Regions from separate parts of the Homo sapiens genome. Here region 1 is linked to region 2. The links are contacts of gene promoters, found by promoter capture Hi-C in blood cells and fetal thymus (Javierre and others, 2016). All regions are on one chromosome and are shown on one strand. The core of a region is centred on a gene start or on the middle of the fragment in contact, and the rest is flanking DNA. Distances in the headings are between cores, read along the strand shown.

Region 1 (7,478 bases), core at 3,451-5,950, 540 kb after region 2:
CAGGCCCACGCTGGGGGAGGCCGAGGGGCCTGCAGGGCAGCCGACGTCCGCTAACCAGGTGACTGGGCCGTGCGCTGCAGGGTTGTGGGCCACGGTCACTGCGCCCGCTTGGTTCGGACCTCGGCAACTGGCCGCACTGACCCGTCAACTCCCGGTTTCCCGGCGCACGCCCCTCGTGAGATGCTGTGGTCTTTTCTAGCAACGTCGACAGGCTTTCCAACAAAATTCCTCTTTCCTGCGCAGAACCGCTCTCCACTCGCATTTCTTCTGCTCAGATCCGTATTCCGAGCCCGCACGCATACCAGGCTGTGCTCAGGGTCCGGAGGAGGCCGACCCAGTAGCCGTGGGCCCTGTCGGAGGGGAGCCAGCTGGGCGCGCGTTGTTTTCTGAGGTGGCCGCGCTGTCTTTCAGGGTGTGTGTACATTCGAAACTCCACTGAACCTTGATTGAAGACCTACAGTGTGGCAGTCCATGGCCTGGGGACTGGTAAGGATTGAGGCCGTAGGATGGGCTCGAGTGTGGCGGTGTCCCCAGGGCCCCAGTGAGCAAGTGGGTGTGCTGGGAACCTGGCCACAAGTGAACCTCCTCCAGGCGAGGGGATGCCCTGCAGCATCCAGCCGTCAAAACCTCCTGTAGAAACGGGAGCGAGCATCAAGCCTGTGTGTGTGCATGCTTGGGCGGAGTCTACCCGGAGGAGAAAGAGGCTTCCGGGCTGGCCCTCCAAAGCCGGTTGTACAGGCGGCAGCTCAGGCTGCTCACTGCGGGCCCTATGACCCTTTCTGGGGCCCTGCTTGCTCTCTCCAGTCTGCTTTTGTATATTTTGTGTCCATATCACCAAATCGTCTCATTGGTTCTAAGCTTTCATTTACCTTCCTTAGATTGTCTAATAGTTGTCTCCTTTCTCAAAGCTGTTCCTGCAGTTTTTACTTTAGTCCTAGGTAATGGGGTGACAGCCCCTTTCAGTTATCTTCAGCAAGCACAGCAGCATGAGAAGACGCAATTACAAGTGAAGTCTCTTAAGTCAGAGCCCTGCTTCTACCTGGCATAGTCTCTTAAACTGTCAGTTAAGAGACTACATATAAACAATACACGTTCAGACTCGGCGCGGTGGCTCACGCCTGTAATCACAGCACTTTGGGAGGCCAAGGCAGGAGGATCTCTTGAGCCCAGGAGTTTGAGACTAGCCTGGCCAATATAGTGGGACCCCCATCTCTACAAAAAATTAAAAAATTAGCCGGGCGTGGTGGTGCACGCCTGTAGTGGTGGGAGGATGGCTTGAGCCGGGGAGGAGGGGGTTGCAGTGAGCCGAGATTGCGCCACTGCACTTCAGCCTGGATGACAGAGCGAGGTCCTGTCTCAAGAAACAAACAAAAACCATGTTTGGGAATACATGTGAAGAGCGAGGGCTCTGCCAATCATTATCATCATAATGAATATTCTAACTAATATTAATCAGTTACTATGCTCCAGGGTTGTGTTCAGTGCATCATTCCTATTACCGCACTAAATTATCACAGCGTCAGAACAAGGCCTCCGTTTTACGGCTTAGGGAATTGAGGCACAGATGGGCTAAGGGAGCACCTGTAGAGCAGGGATGTGGTTTGGTAACAGAGTGCATGCTCTTTATACTGCTCTTCTGCGATTATTGTGAATAAAGCGCCTACAAGTGCCTGTGGAACTGTAAGTGCCCCATACAAGATAGCTTTTATTAATTTTAGGGTTCTCACGGGGCGCTTACTTAGATTTTTGCTGTGATAATTGATAAAGTTCAGCTTTCAACACTCCATATCAAATTCTGTTACTTTAGAAGTCTAGGCACCAATCACGTCTCCGAAATAAACGCAAGGCATTGCATAATTGCATTTTGGAATGTGGTGCTGTACATAGTCCATCAGAGAGGGTCATCACTTCTATCTGGGTATTAGGAATAAAAATGGCGGTGGCAGAGTAGGGGGCGCGGCTGCCAACTGCGAGCTCAGACCTGCACTGGGGAGGCAGGGGGCGGGGCCGGGCCGGCGCCACGTGGGCTGTCCTTCCCTTTTGGGCCGTCCCACCTCCAGAGCTGAGGCGCCTGCGCCAGCTCCTTCGAGGCCCTGCTCGGCTTCAGGGAGCACGCGCGCCCTGCCGTGCTCTGATTGGCGGAGCTGCACGCCCCCGCTGCAGTCTGATTGGCGGATCCGCCTCGCTTTAGAAGGTCGGCGCCCAGTTCCGGCACTCGTGCGCCTACCAGACAGTGGCGGAGGACGGCGCTCGCTAGTCTCCCAGGTCGCGGTACACGGCGAGAACGGGCGGGGCGGTCTCGGCTGCGTCCGGGCGATCCAGTGCTTAGTTCCGTCATATCCCTCTCCACGACCTCGGTCGAGCATGTTCACCAGGGCCCAGGTGAGACGGATTCTGCAGCGGGTGCCCGGGAAGCAGCGATTTGGCATCTACCGGTTCCTGCCCTTCTTTTTTGTCCTGGGAGGAACGATGGAGTGGATCATGATTAAAGTGCGCGTGGGCCAGGAGACCTTCTGTAAGTGAGGGGGTAGCAGTCTCTGTTTCCTTTCAGGAAGGCACGAGGCGGTAGGGATCCGTTTTTCTGGGGAGTATTCTCAGATTGCAGACCGCGCATTCCACTCAGAGCGCTGGGCGAGTGCAGTTCCATTCGCTTGGCAGTCAGGGCGGCCTGGCTCTCCTGTAGGCCGGGCACATTGGCGTCCAGCCTTGTGACCTTCCCTGCACTTACAGGCGAGATCACGTGCTTCTTCCAGCCCTCTCATGCCTGCCCTTCACCCCTGCCGGTGACATCGTTTGGGCTTAAGGAACAGACTTGCTCACAACAATCGTAGAAGGGGGTGGATATGAGGGGTCAGGGAAACTCCTGCTAACTAGCCATTTCTCTTTGGATTCTTCTGTCCAAACTCTGGAGGGAGCTGATCTGCCTGGCTTTGCTAATTACCACTACCTTTACAGGACAGTCATTGGCACCAGGTCTTTGGTCTGGGTCCAGATGATCAGCACTGTAAAGATAGTGGTAACGCCTGGCACTGCATTACTGAGCATTAACTCTGGACAGGCCAGTTCCTTTCAGGAGGACTTCCCCAACCCCTCGGCCCTTTCTGCTTTGCCCCTCTCCTGAAACGCTATCACTTGTGACTTGCCAACCCACATTTTAAAGAATTGTTACATTAGTGATTCCTAAAGATCCTTAGTCCTTCTGTTCATCCATTCATTGATACTTAATGAGCATTCTTGAGGGGCTATAATGAACAAGGCAGAGGTGTCCCTTACCCCAGAAGAGCTCTAATGGGAAAGAAGATGATAAAGACAATTAGCATACAAAGTGATCAGTGCTGTGAGAAGGAAGTGGGAGGAACATAGGACTCTCGGGTGGGCGCCTCAACTGGACTAGATGGTGCAGGGAAGGCTTCCGGAAGCAGCTACCAAGTAAAGTAGGACCTGAAGACTGAGTAGGTGTCAGTCAGATGAGGGGAAGGTGTGTGGAATTGAAAGCATCTCCATGGCAGTGGTAGGAGCACTTGTGTGAGAGTATGCTGTGTGTTTGAGGGATTGAAGCAGATCAACAAAGTGGGGATGGCTAGAAGGGTGCCTGGGCAGGGTGGCAAAGGGACTGGAGAACCAAGAATGGATCCCAAGGATTGAGTCATTTTAGGGAGAGGCTTTAACATGTGGAGAATGGCTCCTTGTGGACAGATTGGTAGGAACAGTTACGCTGTATGGCTGTCCAGAGTTGAGACAGTGGCCTGGTCTAGGTTGGGGCAGAAAGGATACCAAGAAGGGATGGAAGTAAAAGACAGCCCAGAGGTAGTACTGACAGGGCATGGTGATTAAGTGGACTCAGGAGATGAGGAGTGGAGGCTTCTGGTGGGACACCTGGGGCAGGGGGTAGTGCATTTCCTGAAGGTGCCGAACACAGGCAGGGCCATCCTGGGCACCATCTGGGACGTGACGAGGTAGATATGGTTATACAGAGCTGAAGCTCAGGAGGCAAATCTGGGCCAGAAATTGGGATTTGTGAACCATTCAGAAGCAAATTATGATGGAAGTCAAATCCCAACATTTTAATTTAATTTATTTATTTTTTGAGACTGAGTTTCGCTCTTGTTGCCCAGGCTGGAGTGCAGTGGTGCGATCTTGGCTCACCGCAACCTCTGCCTCCCAAGTTCAAGTGATTCTCCTGCCTCAGCCTCTGGAGTAGCTGGGATTACAGGCATGCACCACCACGCCCGGCTAATTTTGTATTTTTAGTAGACATGGGGTGTCTCCATGTTGGTCAGGCTGGTCTAGAACTCCTGACCTCAGGTGATCTGCCCACCTTGGCCTCCCAAAGTGCTGGGATTACAGGCGTGAGCCACTGCGCCTGGCCCAAATCCCAACATTTTAAGGGTAACTGAGAATGGCCAGAAAGGCAAGGAGGGAAACCAGGAGGATTTGTTATCACAGAAGACAGGAGGTTAAATACATCTGGCTCTGTGAAGGGGAGGTAACCCCCCTTCCTCTAGGAGAGACTGCAGGATATGCAAATAATGATCTAGAAGGAGAGGGTGGAGAGAGGCTGGAGATACTGGACCCTTGAGAGGGTGGGACCAGAGCTGGGTGACAGGAGTAAGCCCTTGGAAGTTAGCTGGAAGAGTTCCTTATGATGACTTTCCTCTGTGAAGGAAGAGAGGAAATGGCCATTTGGGGGTGGGTGAAAAAGAGTCAGGATGATGGCTGAGGAAACAGGATTGTCAGACACCTCAGTGGACCCAGTTAGAGGCATCAGTTGGCCCCTCAGGACACAGCAAGCAGGGTGAAGCATGGGGAAGGGAGGAAGTTGGATTAATCTGTGGTTGGGGTTTTGAGGGTGTGTCAGGAAGTTAAGATATTGACAAGAGTATGAAGGAATTTTAGCTGATTTGCCAGGAGAGAGAACAAGAAGCGGCTGAGCGGGTAAGACGGGGCCAAGGACCTGGGGAAGAAACGTGAGGTCCAAGGACAGGAGGGCTGGAAAGGTAACGGGGGTTGTGGTATGAACAGAAATCCTTCAGAGGAGCCCTGCAAGTGACTGGAAGATGTTGAAGGTGAAGGGTACTGGAGCTTCATCCCCATGGGTAATGGTGGTATCTGGGGAGAAGGCACAGGACAGGGTCAAGGAACCTGAGCCAGAGGCCAGCACTTTTGGTGACTGAAGGGGCATGATGGAGAGCAGGTGCCAAAGAAAGATGGTGGCAGACAAATGGCATGAGCCATGAAGGAAGAAGATTTTTTTTTTTTTTTTTTGAGACAGAGTCTTGGTCTGTCACCCAGGCTGGAGTGTGGTGGCACGATCTTGGCTCACTGCAGCCTCTGCCTCCTGGGTTCAAGCGACTCTCCTGCCTAAGCCTCCTGAGTAGCTGGGACTACAGGTGCCTGCCACCACACCCGGTTAATTTTTGTATTTTTAGTAGTGACGGGGTTTCACCATACTGGCCAGGCTGGTCTCAAACTCCTGACCTTGTGATCCGCCTGCCTCGGCCTCCCAAAGTGCTGGGATTACAGGCGTGAGCCACTGTGCCCGGCCTGGAAAGAAGATTCTTTACATGAAGGTGGCGAGTCAAAGGTCTGGCAAAGCAGCAGCTGGAACAAGGAAACTGATCTCCTCTCCCCACCTGAAGGTTTCTGGATATGGGAGAGGGAGCATCAGAGAGCCAAGAGGCAAGAAGTGCCTTTGAGGAGCCAGGTTTTAGTTAAGAAGGATGACTTCAGAGCACAGAATAGAAATTATGGGGGAGAAGGAAGTGAGGGACATCTTAAAACACTAAGAGATGTGCTAAGACATGATTCTATCTTTCAAGACACTGACTTTTACCCTATTTAAGTCTAGAACTCCATTATCATAGTCCTCATCTAACTCAAGTTTTGTTTTAAGTTTATTTTGGCATTGAGTTAAATATTAATGCCAAGATTCAGAAGTAGGTGACAGACCTAGACTATTGGTTAAATTATTCAGATTGTTTTAATTTTAAATATGTTTCTTAAACATCTGAGCAACTTTTTGTTTGATACAGATGATGTCTACCGTAGAAAAGCCTCAGAAAGACAGTATCAGAGAAGGCTGGAAGATGAATGAGACTGAACTTCAGCAGTCAATAAAGTCAATATGAATTTTTACTATTGGTTTCAGTGCCTTTTAAAATATACTTTTCAGATCTCTTGTTCTGACACAGCTTGTCCTTTATCAGCTGCACAATATTCCAATAACTGTTTTTGCAAAGAATTTTTATAGTTCTGTCTCTGCTTGAGTACTTCCCAAGTCACTGCTGGACAGCACTTGTGGGAAAATTATTTCCTCCTAAAACACTCACTCGATGAATCTAGTCCATGAAATATTTCTTAAACAATTCAAGGATCAATCAGGATGCTTTTCAGTGAAGCCCGAATTGTTTTCGGCAATCTTTGTTTTTAGGCAACTAATTATAACCTTATTTACTTTTTTGCAGAATTCAAATTAAATTATGGACACATTCTCTATTGCCAGATCATTTAAACCAGGATAATTATGCAGGTTGTATTTCTGCCAGCTACTAGACTATAAACTTTTTGCTAGGGTGGTGGAAATTCTTGATTGACTACGCATTTCTCATGCTAGTGTTCTTGTGAACAGAAATATGCTCCTCCCTTGCTTGGCTCCCCTAAACTGCAAGGGCTGGATCTTCATGAGGACTGTGGGCAACAGGTTTCACACTACTCTAGGATGAAGATGTTGCTGTTCGATTCAGCTGCTAGAAACAGTTGCTCCTTCCATGAGAAAGTGAACCTACACAGTATAAAGCATCCCAGACTTGAGCTAAATCAGAGGCTCAGTCTATTGAGTGATTTGGCAATCTGACCCAGTGTAAGTTTGGATCAGCCTGGTAGAAAAAGCAGATACCTTTCCATGCTTGCATAGCCACATCTAACATCGTTTCAAGCAAAAAAAAATCTACATACTAAAGACTAAGTTTCAGAATAGTTTCTAACTATTGCATGAGAATAAAGCTGATGCTTAAGGCCATAGGGTATCCTCAAGTTAATGATCTCTGCCACAAACATGTCTCCTAATTTTTTCTAGATTTTTCTTCTAATTTTAGTCCACTTATCTTAGAACCAATTCAGTAAAGAACCATTAACTAACTACTCCCATCTCCTTAAAGCACTACCTACACTACAGTGCAGCAAGCCCAGAGTCACAGCTGGGAGATGGCTTGAATGTGAAAGGCCAGTAATGACCTCTGCCATCAGGGAGAGGACGGTGGTTCATCGTATTCTCATGCCCAGTTGTGTCATCTAGGATTCCTGGTAAACCTAACCTGATAAACCATTTTTAGTGACTTGACTGCTGTATAAAAACTATAGTATGATTCTCAATTATATGGCCATACTCCATGTTTGCCCTAACCCACCTTGTTTTAGGAGTTTAGTATTTGATACATATAGAAAATACGTCATACCTTTTACAAAGAATAATAGTAAAC
Region 2 (7,262 bases), core at 44-2,543:
GGACATGCTCAGCTCTCCCCTAGACCCTCCAGCCTTCTCAGCTAATCCTTAGAACCCCCTGACACAGGAAGAGAAGCTGACCCCAACTCCAGCACTGGGTCAGATGGAGGTCATAAGGCTGGTCAGTGTGGGAATGTGCCCTGCACGCACTCAGACAAGGCCACTCCTTACCCTAAGTGCCACTGCCAAGCAAGGGAGATAGCCAAACTGCCCTCAGGAGGCAGGTTACACCCTGACCAGAGGGTTACACTTCAGGCTGTGGAGACCAAGGAAAGCTTTATTATGGGTCTGGTAGGGTAGAAAAAGGAATTGCAGGCTTTGGGTGGGCCAGTTAGGCTGTGCTCAGGCAGAAGCCAAAGCTAGAGAAAAACTACATGAGAGGCCTTGACTGTGCACCTGGAACCAAGAAAAGACACTTCCATGTGATTCAGTGCACTCACCCCCTTAAGAGATTCGTATCTTTGTGATCGGGGTTTCTTGATACCATTTCTGTGCCATTTTCGGGCTGTGGGAGAAAAAAAGGGAATTAAGCCAACAAAGAACTTTCCTCTAATAAGACCACCCAACATCACAGCTGGCAAGTCTGGGAGAACCAACACTTCCTACAGCAGCTACACTTGAGATATGGGAAACCCTTACTACTAAATGCAAAACACTCTGTATCTCAAGTAGATCTCTAAACCTATAAACCCTAAAGTTATTACTGGGTGAAATCAATCAGCCTCAGGCCCACAATGGAAACGTGCCCCTTCATCTCTGTCCCAGTTTGCCTGAACCAGTCCTTGCCAGGGTCTGGGATGTAGGCAGGGCCCAAAAAACTTACACTGGTTGTGTGTGGTGTGGTTCTTGGACTTGGCCATGTCTGCACCTGGAAGACAAAAGTGGAGATCAGGGTTAAGGGCTCGCCAGGCTGGGCCACCTCTGCCCCCCCCATTCTGGTCAGAATGAGCCTGCAGGCAGAGAATGTGCAGCCTCCACGAGTCTCGGCTTACTCTGCACGACCAAACGCCAGTCCTGGCCTCCCAAACCCAGGTAATGATGCCCTGAAATCAACTCCTTACCCCCGGAAAGCTGCATTCCCCAATAAAGTGGCTTTCCCTGCCATCCCCCTCCTAGGACCTAGAAGCACCATTCCCACCCCGCAGCTTTTGCTCCCGACAGACACACGGTCGGTCACCAGTCCTCTCCGCAGCCCGCGCCCCGCCGCCACCCGTAAGTCGCGGATGGCATCGGATGCCGCGCGGCCAACACTCACCATAAGCCGCGGCTCCCGAAGCGCCTAGAACCGGAAGAGAAAGGGGCTGCGGTGCAGCACGGGAAATAGGGTCAACAACGCCGGAAAGTACTACTGGAAAAGCTTCCCCAGGCTCCGCGAAGAAAAGTTCCGAAGCCCGGAAGAACGCAAGCCAGACGTGGAGGCGGTGCTACGAGCTTGCCTCCGCCCCCTTCAGGCTGCCTCCTCCCTTCTCTGTTTCTCCAGGACCTGTCTCTTAAGTCTTATTCAAGATACTGAAAAAGAAAGGAGTCCTTGAGGGATGTTGTTGGGCAAGAAGATCTGTGTTCTTTTTCTTTTTTTTTTTTTTTGAGACGGAGTTTCGCTCTTCCACCGAGGCTGGAGGGCAGTGGCACAATCTCGGCCCACTGCAACCTCCGCCTTCCGGTTTCAAGCGATTCTCTTGCCTCAGCCTCCCGAGTAGCTGGGATTACAGGCGCCCACCACCACGCCCGGCTAATTTTTACATTTTTAGTAGAGACGGGGTTTCACCATGTTGGCCAGGCTGGTCTCGAACTCCTGACCTCGCGATCCGCTCGCCTCTGTCCCCCAAAGTGCTGGGATTACAGGCGTGAGCCACCGCACCTGGCCGATCTGTGTTCTTAAAAGCACCCCTGTAATCCCAGCACTTTGGGAGGCTGAGGTGGGCGGATCACGAGGTCAGGAGTTCCAGACCAGCCTGGACAACATGGTGAAACCCCATCTCTACTAAAAATCCAAAAAAAAAAAAAAAAAAAAAAAAAAAATTCACGGGGCGTGGTGGCACGTGCCTGTAATCCCAGCTACTCTGGAGGCTGAGGCAGGAGAATTGCTTGAATCTGGGAGGTGGAGGTTGCAGTGAGCCAAGATCGCACCATTGCACTCCAGCCTGGGCTACAGGGCGAGACTCTGTCTCAAAAAAAAAAAAGAAAAGCACGCCTGACTCTTTCGTGGAGAAGGAGCAGAGGGGAGGAAGGAGAGAGGGCTGCCTGGACCTGAGGGAGGACAGTGGGAATGCAGAGGAGTGGACAAAGAAAGAGTACTGGACTTGGGACACAGAAGATGAGGGAGAAAAAGGAGGCAAGGATAGCCCCTATGTCTTTGGCTTGACAACTGGGTGAATGGTGGGCTGTTTACAGAGATGGAAGATTGAGTGGGGAGCAGGGGCTTTGTTTGTTTTGTTTTGAGGGGGAATGATGAGCCAGATATTTTTGTTGGATGCATTAAATGTGAGATGCCTGTTGGACATCAGAATTGAGAAATTGTTGCCTCTAACAACTCTGTTGCCTTCTCCACCTCTTCCCCCTATAGTTCATTTTCCACACGGCAGTGGGGCTTGGGGACTTGTTTTAAGATACAAATCAGATCCTGTCCCTTAAATCTGCAAGGACATCCCCTTGCATTGAAGATCAATTCTTTACCCACTTGACCCTGACAACCTCTGTCATTTACTTCTCTCCAAACGCATTGCCTTTCTTTCCTGCCAACCACAAATGTGTGTTCTGCCTCAGGACCTTTGCACTTGCTATCCCAGCCACCTGGACTGCCCTTCTCCCTGCTTTTTGGATGGTGTGCTCTTTCCTATAGAGGCCTCCCTGGACTCCATTATCTAAAATAGAGAACCACTGCCTCATCTCACCAGTGATTCTGTGTCCTCTCATGGTTTCCTTTCTTTTCTATTCTTTTTTTTTTTTTCTTTTTTTTAGACAGTCTCACTCTGTCTCCCAGGCTGGAGTGCAGTGGTGCGATCTCAGCTCACTGCAACCTCTGCCTCCCGGGTTCAAGCGATTCTCCTGCCTCAGCCTCCTGAGTAGCTGGGATTACGGGCGCACACCACCACTCCCAGCTAATTTTTAAAGAATTATTTTTAGTAGAGACGGGTTTTCACCATGTTGGCCAGGCTGGTGTTGAACTCCTGACCTCAGGTGGTCTGCCCGCCTCGGCCTCCCAAAGTGCTGGGATTACAGGCGTAAGCCACCGTGCCCGGCCATGGTTTGCTTTCTTTATAGAACTTTCCCAGACTCTAATTGCATTGTTTACTTAGTTGTGTATGTGTCCATTATCATAGGAGCCCAGAGTTTGGGACTGGTTTGATCACCTTCATTTTCCCACTGCCTAACTCAGCATAATGTAGATAGAGCAAGAGCTTAATAAACACATGCCCAGTGAACGTTCCTTGACAAGCCAGGTTCGTGGAGTGACAGACGCATACTGCAGAGGTTTAGGGAGTGAAGCGGAAAGGAGGTTGTGGAGGCAGGACATGTGGATGACTCATTACCAAAGCATTCCTGAGAAAGGGGAGAGAATTCTGACAGGTGTGAGTTGGGAGAATGAAAAGCAGGCTTATATACTGATGGATGATCTGGTGCCAAGAAAGAAACAGCTGAGCCCAGAGGAGAGTGTCTCTGCAGGAATAAAGTCCCTGTGGGGTGCTGAGCACAGGTAGAGAACCTGGTGGGCAAAGACAGGGGCTACAGGAGGTGGGGGTGGTGTGATGCCTGACAGCAAGTCAGGACTTCAGCTCAGGAAGTTGAAGAGGTGGCTGTGGAGACTGGGACAGGGAGGAGGAGGTCTGACTGCCACATCCTTGAGAAAGAGAAGCCAGCAGGGTAGAGGCTGACAGCGGGGGCAGTGATGACTTTATTTATTTACTTTTATTTATTTTATTTATTTATTTATTTATTTTGAGACAGAGTTTTGCTCTCATTGCCCAGGCTGGAGTGCAATGGCGCGATGTTGGCTCACTGCAACCTCCACCTCCTGGGTTCAAACGATTCTATTGCCTCAGCCTCCCGAGTAGCTGGGATTACAGGCACCTGCCACCATGCCCAGCTAATTTTTGTGTTTTTAGTAGAGACGGGGTTCTACCATGTTGGCAATGCTGGTCTCGAACTCCTGACCTCAGGTGATCCACACTCCTTGGCCTCCCAAAGTGCTGGGATTACAGGCGTGAGCCTGTAATCCATGTCCAGCCTGTGATGACTTTAAAAGAACCAGGCTGCCCTGCTATGTGGCCTTCCAGCTGGGTAGCGACTCCCGCAGCTCCTAAAAAGTGAGTAGTGACTTGGTTTAGCTAGACTGTTACGACAGAGGCAGAAAAAGCAGTGAGCAGAAAGCCACGGTCTGACGGGGGAGGCAGATTCAGAGATGGACGATGGTCATGCAGTACCACTGGGGCTGTGTTAGGGATTGGCCCAGAGTTAAATCCCAGCTGTTAGGCAAGGGGGAGTCAGTGACAAGAATGAGGAACTTTGGCTGTGACCTGAGGGGACCTGTCCAGGAGCCAAAGGGGACCATGACCTGGAGCCACTGACCTGTCATGCTTTTCTTTTCTTTTTCTTTTTTTTTGAGACAGAGTTTTGCTGTTGTTGCCCAGGCTGGAGTGCAATGACACGATCTCAGTTCACTGCAACCTCCGCCTCCCCAGTTCAAGCGATTCTCCTGGCTCAGCCTCCTGAGTAGCTGGGATTACAGGCGCCTGCCATCACACCCAGCTAATTTTTGTATTTTTAGTAGAGATGAGTTTTCACCATGTTGGTCAGGCTGGTCTTGAACTCCTAACCTCAAGTGATCCACCCACCTTGGCCTCCCAAAATGCTGGGATTACAGGCGTGACCAACCACGCCTAGTCCCTGTCATGCTTTTCAAAGTGGGATGGATGGTAGGGTCATCCATGTCTATAAAGATAGTATTCTTTCTAGGGATAGTTTTCTTTATTTCTCCCTTCCTTCCTTTCTTCCTCCCTCCCTCCCTCCCTCCTTTCTTTCTTTTCTTCCTCCCTCCCTTTTTCACTCCTCTCTTTCATAAATGGAAACTTACACTATATGAACTCTTCTGTAACCTGATTTTATGCATTTAGTCATAATTTGTGGACATCTTTCTCTGCTCATGAAAATCTTTTGTAATCTTAATCTATTTTACATATTTTGAAACATTATTTTGAGAAGAGGTCAATAAATATCACCATATGTCAATGGAGTCTCTGGCACACACATACAAAAAGGCAAAGAACTTAACCTTTCCTCTAGGGTTGACACACTCTCACCCTCCATGAGTGAGTGGTTCTTGCTCCATCTCAAATCTGCCTGGAGGCCGGGCTCCACTTGCCTCCTCCATGGAGTAGACTTGGGCAGAGCCACTATCTGGACTCAGCAGAGCATAAGCCAGGTCTCTCTCAAATGCCTTGGGCACAAGGCAGAGAAAGATGTGAGCCTGGGTGACAAGATAGGGCTGGATGGGGCTGGATGTGATCAGCCCAACCCATGTGGCCTGCAAGGGTGTTGTCTTGACCAGGCCTTGTCCAGACCCATTACCCAATTCAAAGCCCGAGTAGGATCCCATAGTGTCTCCTCAGCAAAGTGATGGGGTTGGAGACCCCTGGGGTTGTTTTTGCAGTTCCTGTCACAGTCCCAGGAGTATATGGGGACCTGATACATGTTTGAGGAGTTAAATGTGCACATTTCACAAATCCAGGAAGATGACAGAATCAGGGTGGAGAAGCCAGCTGGCCTGGAGGGATTTCTCAGAGATAAGAGTCAGCTCTTCTCCTGGACCCAGAGCCTTGCTTGCCAAGCCTCAGTTCCCAGCGTAACGTGGGGATAAAAATAGTAATAACCTCTTGGGGCTAAACTGGATAATTTGAGTAAAGCACAGAACACTATGTTAAGTACACAGTAGGTGCTCAATCATTGTTAGTCCCATCCATGCATCTTCCCCACAAGGCCTCAGGTGAGGGAGACGGGGCTTGGGGAAAGAAAATCAGTGGCAAGTGGATGCTAAAAATAAGGACAAGATCCAAGGAACAACAAGAGAAAGCCAAGGTGGAGGAAAGTGGCGGTGCTCGCGGGGGCTGGGTCCCTTCAGCCTCTGAGGTTCCTGAGATACAGGGACTACCAGTGTTTTCAGGTAAGAGGGACTGTGAAGGTTGTCAGAACCAGGGTGTTTTATCTGGTTGTTTTACCCCCACAAGACAGAAGTGTGGAGGTGGGGTGGGCTTTGGGACTTTGGATCTGCTTAGAACTTTCTGAGGGAGGGGCTACCTGATTCTGTGTGTCCCTAGAAGACAGAGCTGTGACTGAGGACAGCAAATGCCAGCTTCGTGGACAAGGGGCATTTTTGCAATCAGAATTCCCTCCAAAATATGGGCTGCTCCCAGCAGTAGTGAGCTTCCTGATACAAGGGTTTTGCCAGCAGCGATTGAATGCCCTGGGGTTGGGGGTTTAAAAATGGGATGGAGGGGGCCAGCCATGGTGGCTTACGCCCATAATCCCAGCACTTTGGGAGGCTGAGCTGTGTGGATCACTTGAGGTCAGGAGTTCAAGACCAGCCTGGCCAACATGATGAAACCCCATCTCCACTAAGAATACAAAAAATTAAGATGGGTGTGGGGGTGGGCACCTGTAATCCCTGCTACTTGGGAGGCTGAGGCAGGAGAATCGCTTGAACCCAGGAGGCGGAGGTTGCAGTGAGTTGAGATCGCGCCATTGTCCTCCAGCCTGGGAAACAAGAGTGAAACTCTGTCTCAAAAAAAAAAAAAAAAAGTGGAATGCAGGGTTGGAAAATAGAGTTAAGTTCACTCCCCACCAGGAGCCTGGGATTCAAAGCTCCTGGTAGAAGGAAAGGGCCATGGGCTGCATGCAACGCCAGGCTGGTGCTCAGTATCTGTCAAAAGAGAGTCATTTCCAGCAGAAACTGGAAGGTGCGGCCCATTCCTCAGGTCATCGCGCGCGCGCCCCTTTCAGCCCCAGGCCTGATCTCCCTCTGGGGGCGCACCTGGCCCACCTAGCCCAGGAGTGAGCCGGGATGTGAGCCTATCGTCCGCAAGGGGGCAGAGTGGGACCGCGGATGAAGTCTGGTGCTGCAGGTGGGCTGTAGACAGGCACCCGCTCCCCTCCGGCGGGACACTCTTGCAGCCTCCCAGGCCTTTCACAGCTGCGCTTCTCAGCACGCCCCACCACCCCCACCTCCAGATTCAGTGCCTGTCTATTTTGAACAGGTTCTCTAGGCTGGG

Evidence for each region. Contacts are between HindIII fragments. The CHiCAGO score rates a contact against its expected background, and 5 or more counts as called.
Region 1: a fragment that was not itself captured here is called in contact with the fragment with the promoter of RPL29 in region 2 in 2 of 17 cell types (fetal thymus and naive B cells); the score reaches 5.5 in fetal thymus.

Annotation. Positions count from the first base shown.
Region 1 is chr3:52,534,392-52,541,869 of GRCh38, forward strand. It overlaps UQCC5 (ubiquinol-cytochrome c reductase complex assembly factor 5), which reads left to right and starts at 2,214. Exons shown (of 2, transcript NM_001124767.2): 1 at 2,214-2,515; 2 at 6,033-7,478. The coding sequence starts at 2,365. The coding sequence ends at 6,094. It also overlaps a transcript of NT5DC2 not described here. RefSeq lists a silencer at 1,900-2,199 and an enhancer at 2,533-3,066. The HindIII fragment of the contact is 7,688 bases long and covers 857-7,478 here.
Region 2 is chr3:51,994,602-52,001,863 of GRCh38, forward strand. RPL29 (ribosomal protein L29) reads right to left here and starts at 1,294. Exons shown (of 4, transcript NM_000992.3): 1 at 1,256-1,294; 2 at 824-868; 3 at 441-505. The coding sequence starts at 860. RefSeq lists an enhancer at 1,239-1,398. The HindIII fragment of the contact is 1,082 bases long and covers 274-1,355 here.